Linked DNA regions of Homo sapiens: regions 1 and 2 are each linked to region 3. Evidence: promoter capture Hi-C in human tissues and cell types (Jung and others, 2019). All regions are on one chromosome and are shown on one strand. The core of a region is centred on a gene start or on the middle of the fragment in contact, and the rest is flanking DNA. Distances in the headings are between cores, read along the strand shown.

Region 1 (4,112 bases), core at 1,275-3,774, 180 kb after region 3:
TCGCAAAGTACTGGGATTACAGGCATGAGCCACCATGTTGGTCAGTCTGGTCTCAAACTCCTGTCCTCATGATCCGCCCACCTCAGCCTCGCAAAGTACTGGGATTACAGGCATGAGCCACCACGTCCGGCCACCACTGACTTTTTCATTCTTTCTCATTCTTCCTGGGCCCTCCTGCTGTTGTAGGCCTCCATGAAGAAGTGGACTATTCTGAGAAACTGAAGTTCAGTGATGATGAAGAGGAGGAAGAAGTTGTGAAGGACGGCAGGCCAAAGTGGTAAGGACCCGTTCCTGCCCTATCAGCATGAGTGCATCCCTGCTTAGTGTTGTTGTGTACCCAGAGCATTTCCCAGTTTCCATAGCAACCTGGAATGGCAGACAGATGCTGTTTCCACTTTGTTTTGAGGGTGACAGCTATTGATGATGGCTGTGAAGGAGGGGAGCCAGGGTTTGCCTGCAGGTGTGACTGTGTCCTGTGCATAGTCGGCCTCTTCACCACTGCATCAGTGTGTCCCCAGGTGTGTTATGCAGACCACGTCTTCATGGATTGCTTGTGGCTGTCGTGCCCAAAAAGGCTGCTGTGGCCAAGCAAGTTTGGGAAACCTCCCTGGGTTCAACTTCTTTTTTTTTTTTTTTTTTTTTTTTGAGACAGGCTCTCACTCTGTCACCCAGGCTGGAGTGCGGTGGCATGATGTCAGCTCACTAAAACCTCCATCTCCTGGGCTCAGCGATTCTCCCACCCCAGCTTCCCAAATAGCTAGGACCACAGATGCACGCCAGCATACCCAGCTAATTTTTATCTTTCTGCTGGAGATGGGGTTTGCCACGTTACCCAGGTTTGGTCTCAAACTCCTGGGCTCAAGTGATCCACTGTGCCTGGCCTCAACTTCTTTCTTTACTCCAGATTCCTCGGAGCCTTGAACATGCTAAAGTACACTGGGGGCCGGGCACGGCGGCTCGTGCTGTTAATTCCAGCACTTTGGGAGGCCGAGGCAGGTGGATCTCTTGAGGTCAGGAGTTTGAGACCAGCCTGCCCAAGATGGTGAAACCCCGTCTCTACTAAAAGTACAAAAATTAACCAGGTGTGGTGGCGTGTGCTTGTAATCCCAGCTACTTGGGTGGCTGAGGCAGGAGAATTGCTTGAACCCAGGAGGCAGAGGTTGCAGTGAGCCAAGATTGTGCCACTGTACTTCAGCCTGGGCGACAGAGCAAAACTCTGTCTCAAAGGAAAAAGAAAAAAAAAATTAAGTGCACTGGGGAGGTGAAGAAGCAGAATGCATGCCAGCTTTCCTGAATTTATTTGACCATGTTAATTTTGTCTCTTTTTTTTTTTTTTTTTTTGGATCATTTCCTTGGACTAGTTTAGTTTTGTTTAATTTCCTTTAGAAAATACTGCATTGTACTCTCATCCCTCTAGTTTTTATAATGTTAGTAGCACTTTTAAAATAATACCCCACAATGGCCAGGCACGGTGGCTCACGCCTGTAATCCTAGCACTTTGGGAGGCCAAGGCGGGCGGATCACGAGGTCAGGAGATCGAGACCATCCTGGCTAACACAGTGAAACCCCGTCTCTACTAAAAATACAAAAAACTAGCTGGGCATGGTGGTAGGTGCCTGTAGTCCCAGCTACTCGGGAGGCTGAGGCAGGAGAATGGCATGAACCCGGGAGGCGGAGCTTGCAGTGAGCCGAGATCACGCCACATGCCACTGCACTCCAGCCCGGGCAACAGAGCGAGACTCCACCTCAAAAAAAAAAAATACCCCACAATTAGTTGGGCGTGGTGTGCACCTGTAGTCCTAGCTACTCAGGAGGCTGAGGTGGGAGGACTACTGGAATCCAGAAGGTCGAGGCTGCAGTGAGCCATGATTGCACCACTGCACTCCAGCCTGAGTGACAGAGTAAGGCCCTGTCTCAAAAAATTAATAATAACAATCATACCTATGGTTGTCATAATTTGTATTTTTTGAGTACTAGCAAGTAAGACTTTTTCCTTTGCTTCCTTTGTATAATGCCTGTTTCCTTCACATTTATCACTGCTTTCCGTTAAAATGTAATGTTTTATATTGTTTAGATGTTAATGCTTTGCTGTTGGTCTTGCAAATATTTTTCTCTGTTTTCTTGTCAATAACTGAATATTTGTTTAGTCAAATCTGTGAGTCATCTTTTTCTTTGTTATTTCATCCTTTACTTAAAAGCTTCCTAAAGTAAGTGCCCATCTTCTGGAAAGAGTTGGTAATAATCTTTGCTACTCTTTTTCTGATGACACACAAAAAATGAAATTCTGTAATTTCCTTTCATGCTGTTTGATTTCAGCTGAAGCTTTGGATGCAGTCGGGACATACCTATGGGTCAGTTCCTGGAACACTAAGCTCAGAAGGAGCTGTGATCAAGAATTAAAATCAAAGGCAAAGACATAAACTCTTAGAGACTGATTGGAGCAGTAGGACACTCTGTGTTCCTTGTCTCTTTGAGGCGATGGGAACTGCATATTCCCCTGAAGGAACTGGACATTGGTTTTGGAGACAGTTTTGCCCCTGACTTTGACCAAGGGCACTTCAAAATCAGAGTGCCCGAACGATCTCCTCCTGAAACCTGCTCTTTTTCTTCATGTTCTCTGAGCTGGTTGGTGACCTGGTAGAGACTTAGTGCATGCATCCATGTCTTATTTGGCATCTTTATTTCCTCATACACAATTGGCTCCCAAAACTTGCCCTGACTCTGTCTCCTCTTTTCATTTTCTCTGGGGCCACTGGGACCTCCTCCTTTTCCAGACCATCCATGGGTCCACCAGTTCATCTCCATCCTTTCAGCCTGTCCTCCATGGCCCGTCCTTGACACCCTGCCCATAGTCATCTTCTAAAAACACAGGTCTTTTAGACAGGTCAGCAGCTTTACTGTGGTCTCCATTTCTGACAAAGTCAGATAGGAATCACCGTTGTCCCCTCTGTAATTGTTGTCCCCTCTGTAATTTTCCCCTCTGTAATCTCCTAAGCTATGTTACCTGCCTCGTCTTCCCTCCCTCGCCACGTACGTGTGTGGGTAGACACACAGGCCCACACATCTGCCATCCCTGATTCCCGCTTTTCTCTGATCTGCAGTATTACCGGGCCCTTGCAAATGCTTTGCCCCAGCACCATTGCTTCCATTGTGAGGCGTCCAGACGAGCATGGCACCCATCCCCTTCTTGTCCAGCCACCCCTGCAGCTCTGTTTGGAACACCTCCTCCTTTTCCATGCTGTGTCGGCTCTGCTTGTCTCCTCTTGCTCTTTTTATTGTGGCACTGTTTAGTAGTCATCTTTTGTTCTTTTGAGGGGCATTTATTGAGCAACTGGCTTGTGCAGAGCATAGGGAGGGAGATGTACCAAAAGGAGACGGACACGCACCTGGGAGTCCTGGTTCAAATCTGTGAGCTCCTCCCTGTGAGGGGTGCCCCGTTAACCTTGATGAGACTCAGCTACTGACTTTTTAAATCAAGAGTGTCCAATCTTTTGGCTTCCCTGGGCCACACTGGAAGAGTTGTCTTGAGCCACACATAAAATACACTAACACTAACGATAGCTGATAAGCTAAAATGAAAAAGTTACGAAAAAATACCTCATAATGTGTTTTTATTTTTTTTTTTTTCTGAGACGGAGTCTCTCTCTGTTTGTTGCCCAGGCTGGAGTGTAGTGCCGCGATTTTGGCTCACTGCAACCTTCACCTCTGGGGTTCAAGCACTTCTCCCACCTCAGCCTCTAGTAGCTGAGATTACAGGTGCCTGCTACCACACCTGGCTAATTTTTGTATTTTTAGTAGAGACTTGGTTTCACCATGTTGGCCTGGCTGATCTGGAACTCCTGACCTCAAATGATCAGCCCGCCTCAGCCTCCCAAAGTGCTAGGATTACAGGCGTGAGCCACTACGCCCAGGCCCTCTTATAATGTTTTAAGAAAGTTTACGAATTTGTGTTGCGCTGCATCCAGAGCCCAGGGCCATCCTGGGCCACATGTGGTTGGACAAGCTTGCTTTAAAGTGAGGATCATGAGGACTTTTTTTTGCATCGGTGAAATAGTGTGACATATCGTGCCTGGGGCTCTGTTTAATGAGAGTGACTTGATAAATGGTGGGGC
Region 2 (3,901 bases), core at 135-2,634, 130 kb after region 3:
TGTATTTTTAATAGAGATGGGGTTTCTCCATGTTGGTCAGGCTGGTCTCGAACTCCCGACCTCAGGTGATCTGCCCGTCTTGGCCTCCCAAAATGCTGGGATTACAGACGTGAGCCACCGCACCTTACAGGTGCCTGCCACCACGCCTGGCTAATTTTTGTATTTTTAGTAGAGACGGGATTTCACCATGTTGGTTGGCCAGGCTGGTCTCGAACGCCTGACCCCAGGTGATCTGCCCATCTCGGCCTCCCAAAGTGCTGGGATTATAGGTGTGAGCCACTGCTCCCTGGCCACATTAGTATCTTTTGAATTTGTCTTACTGAATGTGTATTAGTAACATGTATTGGTTACAAAGATAATAACAAAGGTAACTCGCATGCATTTCAGTACAGTGGAGCCTGTGGGGGCCGGGCTGGGCTGGGGCAGCTGCTGTGTTGGTGGCTCTTTTCCTGGTGCCAGATCAAACTTACCGTGAGGTAAGAGCTGCTCCAGGCTTCGTATTCCACGCAGACCCATCCAGTGCACCCTGGCTCCTGGTATTGGGCCCCAGTGGTTACTGTGAATTTAACTAGTTCAATCGTCTGTCTCTGTTGATGTGTCAGTGGCCCTCAGAAACTGCTTTGTTTATCTGGTTAGAAGGAACAATCCAATACAAATGCTGTCTCCGATTTCTCTTCTCTACTAAATCAGATTGTACAATAAAGAACATAGATTTTGGTTGCATTTGCAGAGTACTTCTCATTTGTTAATTCACCATTATTTGGAGGTGGAAAAGGAAGGAGTAACTGAAAGAAGCCCATGTATTTCATGTATTTCTTTTATTTGCCAGGTCCTTGTTAAATTTTGACGCCAGAGAGGGAGGCCTTTGTATAGCACATCTGTCCAACTGTTCATCACTCACCATATGTTGAAATCATCTTCTTCCCCACCCCCCTTGCTAAATTAACCGCATCTTCAAAGCGGGAGGTAGGCAGGAACTTGGAGACCGCATATGGGCTTTCCAGCCAGAGTCCTCTTCAGGCTTCAGCCCAAGCCTGCCTGCCTGTGAGCTAGATGAGGAGAGGGGCTCCAGGCAGACCCTGTGGGTGAGGAGCCCAGAGCTGGTGCAGACTCTGGGGGTGTGGGATGCTGTATTAGAGTAAAGATAACAGTGCCAGCGCCAGTTCACACCCCACCGCAGGCCAGGCCTGCACTTCACATTCACCTCAGGTCCCCAGGGGTGCTGGCAGGGCCAGGGAGTACCGTGGGCAGGTGGGGCCATTCTCTGGGGCCCACCGCATGGGCCTCCCAATCATGGCAGCAGGCGTCGTTCTTCCAGTGCCCAACACTGCCCAAGTAAGTCTGGATGTCACATCACCCCGGGTTCAGGTTCAGATTTTTTAGACTCACTAACTGGATGATAGTGACCTTGAACTAGTTATTTAACCTTGCGGAGCCTTCATGTCTATAAAATGGAAGTACTAATACCCTTCTCTGAGTGGTTTATCTATTTTGTTTCTTCGTTCAAGGAACTAATTTTATTCATTTTTTCTTTTCTTTTTTTCCTTGTGGACCTCACCTGACTGGAGGAGCTCCTATTCTTAAATGCAATTTTATGCAGATGTATTTATTACACTCCCTAGCTCTCTTTAGGCTTTTTCTTCATTGTTTCTGCTTTCCCTTACATTTGCTTGCATTGGTTTTTTTCTGATTTCTTAACTTGGATGCTTAATTTATATTTCATTTTTTTTCGTTAGGAATTTGGTTTTTAGGATATTTCCTCTGAGTACAGATTTATTTTTGCTTTGAAAGTTTTCTTACGGCCAGTAATCCCAGCACTCTGGGAGGCCGAGGAGGGCGGATCACCTAAGATCAAGAGTTGGAGACCAGCCTGGCCAACATGGTGAAACCCCATCTCTACTAAAAATAAAAAGAATTAGCTGGGGGTGGTGGCAGGCACCTGTAATCCCAGCTACTTGGGAGGCTGAGGCAGGAGAATCGCCTGAACCCGGGAGGTGGAGATTGCAGTGAGCCGAGATCACGCCACTGTACTCCAGCCTGGGTGACAGAGCGAGACTGTGTCGGCAGGGGAAGAAAGCTTTGTTATGCAGTGTTCTGTTTTTCATTTGTGCTATTTTCTTTTTTTTGTTTGTTTTTTTGTTTTGTTTTGTTTTTTGTTTTGTTTTTTTTTTTGAGACGGAGTCTTGCTCTGTTGCCCAGGCTGGAGTGCAGTGGCGCAATCTCGGCTCACTGCAAGCTCCACCTCCCGGGTTCACTCCATTCTCCTGCCTCAGCCTCCCGAGTAGCTGGGACTACAGGCGCCTGCCACCACGCCTGGCTAATTTTTTGTATTTTTAGTAGAGACAGGGTTTCACTGTGTTCAGGATGGTCTTGATCTCCTGACCTCGTGATCCGCCCGCCTCGGCCTTCCAAAGTGCTGAGATTACAGGCATGAGCCACTGCGCCTGGCCTCATTTGTACTATTTTCTAGATATTTTGCAGGTGTGGTTTTGAATTCCACTTAGATTCAAAACTTTTTTAGTAGAGAGTGTTAGGTTTTCCAGCTCTTGGGGTTATTATTTCTACTTTCATCATGTCTTGTTTTATTGCACTGTTGTCAGTTTTACTTTACAGAATTTGGGATTTTTCTTTTCTTTTTTCAGACAGAGTCTTGTTCTGTCACCCAGGGTGGAGTGCAGTGGCACAGTCACGGCTTACTGCAACCCCAAACTCCTGGATTCAAGGGAGTCTCCCAAGTAGCTGGGATCCAGGCATGTGCCACCACACCCAGCTAATTAATTTTTTTTTTTTTTTCTGTAGAGATGGCGTCTTGCTGTATTGCCCAGACTGATCTCAAATTCCTCACCTCAAGCGATCCTCTCACTTCGGACTCTCAGAGTGTGGGGATTACAGGTGTGAGCCACTGTACCTGGCCTGAATTTTTCTTAAAGTCTAATATAGTCACTTTTAGAACATGTTTGCTCATCTACGTTGACCGTCTCTATCTTGATGGGCTTGATCTACCAAGGTGGACAGGCTTCTGTTTGTTCTAATGTTTGTACTTTCATTGTGGGTGGTCCTCTTGGCCCTTTAAAACTACCCTGCTCTGCTGCTTGCTCTTTTGTGTCTGTCTCCTTTGATTCAACATTTTTTTTGTGCGTTTCATCTGTATAGTTGTGTATGTTTATTTGTTCTTATTGTAGGATGGTTTTTGGTTATGTGGATGTAATTATCCATGTGACAGACTGAGCTCATTTCCATAGTTCTTCCAAACAATGCTGCCACAGTGCGGGTATGTGCGTGCGTGCGTGCGTGCATGCACACGCTGTTGGGTATATACCTAGGTTTGGAGTTAACTGGGTCATGGGTGAGCATATGGTGGCTGCATGGGCAGCTGCCAGCTCTCAGTGATGGCACCAGGTACATGAGGGTCATCCTTGCTCTGCTGACGCTGTAAAGATGTTGCTTCTTTGCAAATTAACCGCTGGATTCCCTGTAATTCTAGTGAAAATCCCAGCAGCTTTTCTTTTGTTTTAGCTGTTTATTTCAGAAATTGACAAACTCATTCTGAAATTTATATGAAAATGCAAAAGGGCCAAGAATAATCAAAGCATTCTCTCTCTCTCTTTTTTTTTTTTTTTTGAGAAGGAGTTTTGCTGTTGCTCAGGCTGGAGTGCAGTGAGACGATTATAGGTCACTGCAGCCTAAAACTCCTGGGCTCAGGAGATCCTCCAGCCTCAGCCTCCCGAGTAGCTGGGATTATAGGTGTAAAAAGTAAAGTAGAGGTTTCATTTTAAAGATTTTCCTCTTCATCTAATTAGGAATAAATAGTAACTTCTTTTAGAAGCAAAATTTATTTAAAGACCTGTGCTAACATTCTTAAATATCTGCTAGCTGTAATAAATAAATTAATGTACTTTAT
Region 3 (3,746 bases), core at 786-3,285:
CTGCTCTTGAGACACAAAGGGGTTGGCACAGAAATCAGGCTGGTGGAGAGGGCCGGTGAGAGCCTCTAGATGTGCCCCCCATGTACCTCTTTGGGACAGTCACTGTCACACGCTGGACTTAAGGGTTACTGTGATCCTCATGTTTCCTTTAGAACTTTGGAGTCATTAAGTAGAGAAGCCACCAGACTTGGTGTCCCGCCATCCTCCACCCCTCTCATTTACAGGTGGCCCATGAGATTCTTAAATCTGTGATAAGTTCCAGCTCCTGGGGAAATTCTCCTCTTTTCCCCACTTGCAAAACGGGGACGTGAAGCTGCACAGGGTAGACACTGAGAGAGGCTCTGGGAGTGTCAGCGGCCAGTCACGGGGCCACAGGGTAGACACTGAGAGAGGTTCTGGGAGTGTCAGCGGCCAGTCACGGGGCCGCATGGGTGGGCTGCCCGCCGGGGCCTGCCTAGCTCTCTCCAAAGGGTCCTTACGCTCAGAAACAGCTATTTTCACCATCCCTGTCTTAGGGTGAACCTTCAGATTAAGTCACTCTCCCAACTCTGCCTAAATGCAGCTCTTTTCACCCTGGGGACGGCCTTCTCTGGGGTCAGGAAGCAGGCCAGGAAAGGAGCCCCAGGGTCCCAGGGTCCTCACCGGGACCCCCAATACCCTAGGCACACTCTGGAGACCGGGCTTTGGGGCTGCAGAGGAGAGGCTCCTCTTTGCTGTTCCTGTTAGGGCCTCGCCAGAGGGACACTGGACTTGTCTGCATAAAGCGGTCTTCTGCCTTGGAGACAGAAAGCGATACACTGTGAAGAAATCGGGCTTCTAAAACTAACTGTGCTCTCAAACACAGTGCCGTTTGGAACGGGGAAGCACTCCCCCAGCTCCTGGCATACACTGGTAAAAGCCAGAAAGATAATTGAGGCCCAATCGCAAAGCCCTGAACACACCGGTCTGGGAGTTGCAGAGTGCCTGAATGTCTGCCATGGGCCCGCACAGGGCCAGAGGCCTGGAGGGCAGCCCTGCAGCCTCTCTGGTGACCCCTGATGGCACAGACACTCCTCAGGCGGACGGCACACTTGCTCTGCCAGGAAACACTGGGAGTAATGTCTCTCTGCTTTCTCGGCATCTTGCAGGGAAGGACACAGGAACCCGGGGGGAACAGTGGCAGGGTAGATTGCAGGACCGTGACTCCAATCTGGATCCACAGGCAAACTTTTCAGGGAGCCACCGGGCCAATGAGGCCACCTGCATACCTGCCTAAAGCTTCCCTCTGGCCTCCGTCCTGTCTTCATGGTATCTCCACCTTCCCCCTATCCGCGGCCCCCCACCAGGCCTCCAAGCTCGGCCATCCCTAGCAGTTCCCAGAGCTGGCTCTCGGCCGTACTCACATGCCCTGCTCGCCGTACTGGTTGTAGAACTCCATGTGGCTGCACGCCTGGATCCAGCCAACTACCCAAGTCTCCTTCTTGGGGATGGGCGGCATGACCACCTGGGCCGAGGCCCGGAAGTGGGGTGTCCGGTAGCGGAGCACCACGCTGGAGGACTCATCGATGCTAGTGGGGACGGGGTCGATGGAGGCTTTCACATCAATCACCGTGATCCCTTCCCGGAAGACTCTGGCTTTGCCTCCGATGCTCTGAATACAGCCCATGGCATACAGGAGCGCTCTGATCTCCAGGGAAGGCCAGCAGTCACAGAAAAAACCAGGCATTGAAAGGACAGAGGCTGCAGGACCCAGTACAGACGGCGCTGCTCTCCAATCTCAACTCTCAAGACCGATATCCATAGGATAGAAAACTCACTGAGTAGACTGGGGTTGCATATATCACTACCGCGGCCTGTTTATAAATAAGGATTCTGCTGCATTTCATGAGCCCTGGGCTCTCTCTTCTTCTCCTCGCAGTGGACAAAAATCACCGATATTCTTTGGGTTAAAAAAAGTTTGTAGTTTAATGAATAATTATGCGGTTCTGACATCCAGCCCTTCTGTGCCTCACACGCGGGGACGGCAGCTCGCAGACTCTCCCTGAAGTCTTCGGAGGAAGCAGGCGAGCGCCGGCAGACTCATAAATAAGGAAGGCTCTGTCCCCGCGCGGCCGCGCCACCCTCGCGGCAGAAGCCTGACTTCCTGCCCTCCGGCCTTCCGCACGCGCTCCCTCCGGGCCCCGCACCCGCACCCGCCCGGCGCGGTCGAATCAATTGCAGAGCAGTTTGTGTTCACCCGGCCGAGGTCCCGGCGCCCTCGGGGCGAGCGCCGACCCGCGGCTTCCAGGAGGCGAGCTCAGGGCTCCGGCCGCTCGCCGGTGACGGGGGAGCGCGGCGCGGGTCCCCGTCGGCGCCCACTCGCGGGCGCGGGCCGGACGTCCCCACGCAGGGGCGCCGCGTCCCTTCGCCGCTGTCGCTGCCGGCCGCCGTGCAGGGTCCCGGGGCTGCGCTCCGGCCGCCGCCGCCTGCTTCGCCGCGGCCGCCGAGGACCTGGTGGGAGGTGGAAGGGACAGCGCGTCAAGGCCAGCCTCAAAGTTAAGCCGAACTTTGCTGCGGGGGGCGCGCGGGGGCGGCGACGCGTGTGCGCTGGGCGCGGGCTGCGGAGCTGACGGCGCAGCTCTGGGCGGTCTCCCCGGAGGCGGTGGCCCCCGCCCCCCGCGCCCGCCCCGTCAGTGGCGGCCGCACGACCGCGCGCACCAGCGAATAATAGCCGCCCGTGACATCTCCGCTGATACCGTCCCGGACGGGCGGGGTGGGGGGCGAGCGGCTGCCGCTGCAGGGGGCGGCGAGCACTTGCCCTGCTCTGTCCCCACCGCCGCGCCGCCAGCGCCAGGTGCCCCTTCCCCACCCCGGTCCCTCCGGCTCCCTGGGCGCAGGGCCACCCACCAGTGCCGTCGGATCCGGCGGGCACCCCTTTCCCGGCTGGGGTCCCTCGGCCCTCGGAGGGCATAGTGCCCCCGCTCCGCCGCGTCAAGCGCCTCTGTCGCCCCTCTCCAGCCGCGAGCAGCCCCGGGTCCCCACGCGTCGGGCGCGCTCGCCGCTGCCGGGGAACTTTGGCGCGCACGCCCCCACTCGGGCGGCGCCGCCGACTCACCTGCCCCGGGGGCCACTCCGCTGGCCCGGGCAGCCGCTCTCCGGACGCCCCTGACCCGGCCGCGGGCACGTTCTTGGGGCGCCCCCACCCCCTTCCCCGGGCACTGTCCCTTGGCTCTACTGGAGTCTGGGGCCGGCGTGGGCGCCCCCGGCCCCCACCCTCCTCCCGGCTTGGGGCTTCGGGGGGGCGGCCGGGGGCGGAGGGCTGAGGCTCGGGGCTCTCTCGCCCCCACCCCGCGCGCCTCCTTTATTTTATGATCATTGTGAGCGCGCTGTCGCCGCTCAGCCCCGCCGCCGCGCCGCTGCCGCCTGGCGCGCCCCGCGCTGCCTCGCTCTGCTGCAGCATCGGAAAGGCAACCGGGTCAAACTTTGCAGAAACTCGGCCCCTGCGCCGGCCCGGCCCCCGCGTCCGCTCGCCGCCGCCGCCGGCCGAGCGCAGCCGGCGCACGCAGGGACCGCCGCCCGCTCGCCGGCCCCGCGGGGATGCAGGTCCGCAGGCGGCGGCGGCGGCGGCGGGCGGGCGCCGCCTCCTCCTCCCCGCCCGCCTGGCTCTCCACCCTCGCTCCCCGCACACAGCCCGCCCTCCCCCTGGTAATCCCTCGCTCCCCCTCGCTCCCTGTCTCTGCAGCTGCTCGGGGAGCTGAGCCTCTCCTTGAACAAACGACATTTCCTTT

The links. Contacts are between HindIII fragments. The study calls those that stand out against the background at their distance.
Region 1: a contact is called between a fragment that was not itself captured here and the fragment with the promoter of FAM78A in region 3, in 2 of the 25 tissues and cell types used here (bladder and mesenchymal stem cells).
Region 2: a contact is called between a fragment that was not itself captured here and the fragment with the promoter of FAM78A in region 3, in 2 of the 25 tissues and cell types used here (heart left ventricle and thymus).

The regions. Positions count from the first base shown.
Region 1 is chr9:131,454,890-131,459,001 of GRCh38, forward strand. PRRC2B (proline rich coiled-coil 2B) reads left to right here. Exons shown (of 32, transcript NM_013318.4): 10 at 187-277. Among named protein-coding and RNA genes, the nearest start is that of SNORD62A, 29 kb to the right of the region's middle. The HindIII fragment of the contact is 3,387 bases long and covers 832-4,112 here.
Region 2 is chr9:131,409,193-131,413,093 of GRCh38, forward strand. All of the region lies in intron 1 of PRRC2B (proline rich coiled-coil 2B), which reads left to right. Among named protein-coding and RNA genes, the nearest start is that of PRRC2B, 17 kb to the left of the region's middle. RefSeq lists an enhancer at 1-173. The HindIII fragment of the contact is 5,892 bases long and covers 1-3,901 here.
Region 3 is chr9:131,274,475-131,278,220 of GRCh38, forward strand. FAM78A (family with sequence similarity 78 member A) reads right to left here and starts at 2,036. Exons shown (of 2, transcript NM_033387.4): 1 at 1,383-2,036. The coding sequence starts at 1,705. RefSeq lists enhancers at 516-575, 751-1,363, 776-825, 856-905, 1,066-1,565 and 3 more and a silencer at 2,206-3,385. The HindIII fragment of the contact is 9,704 bases long and covers 63-3,746 here.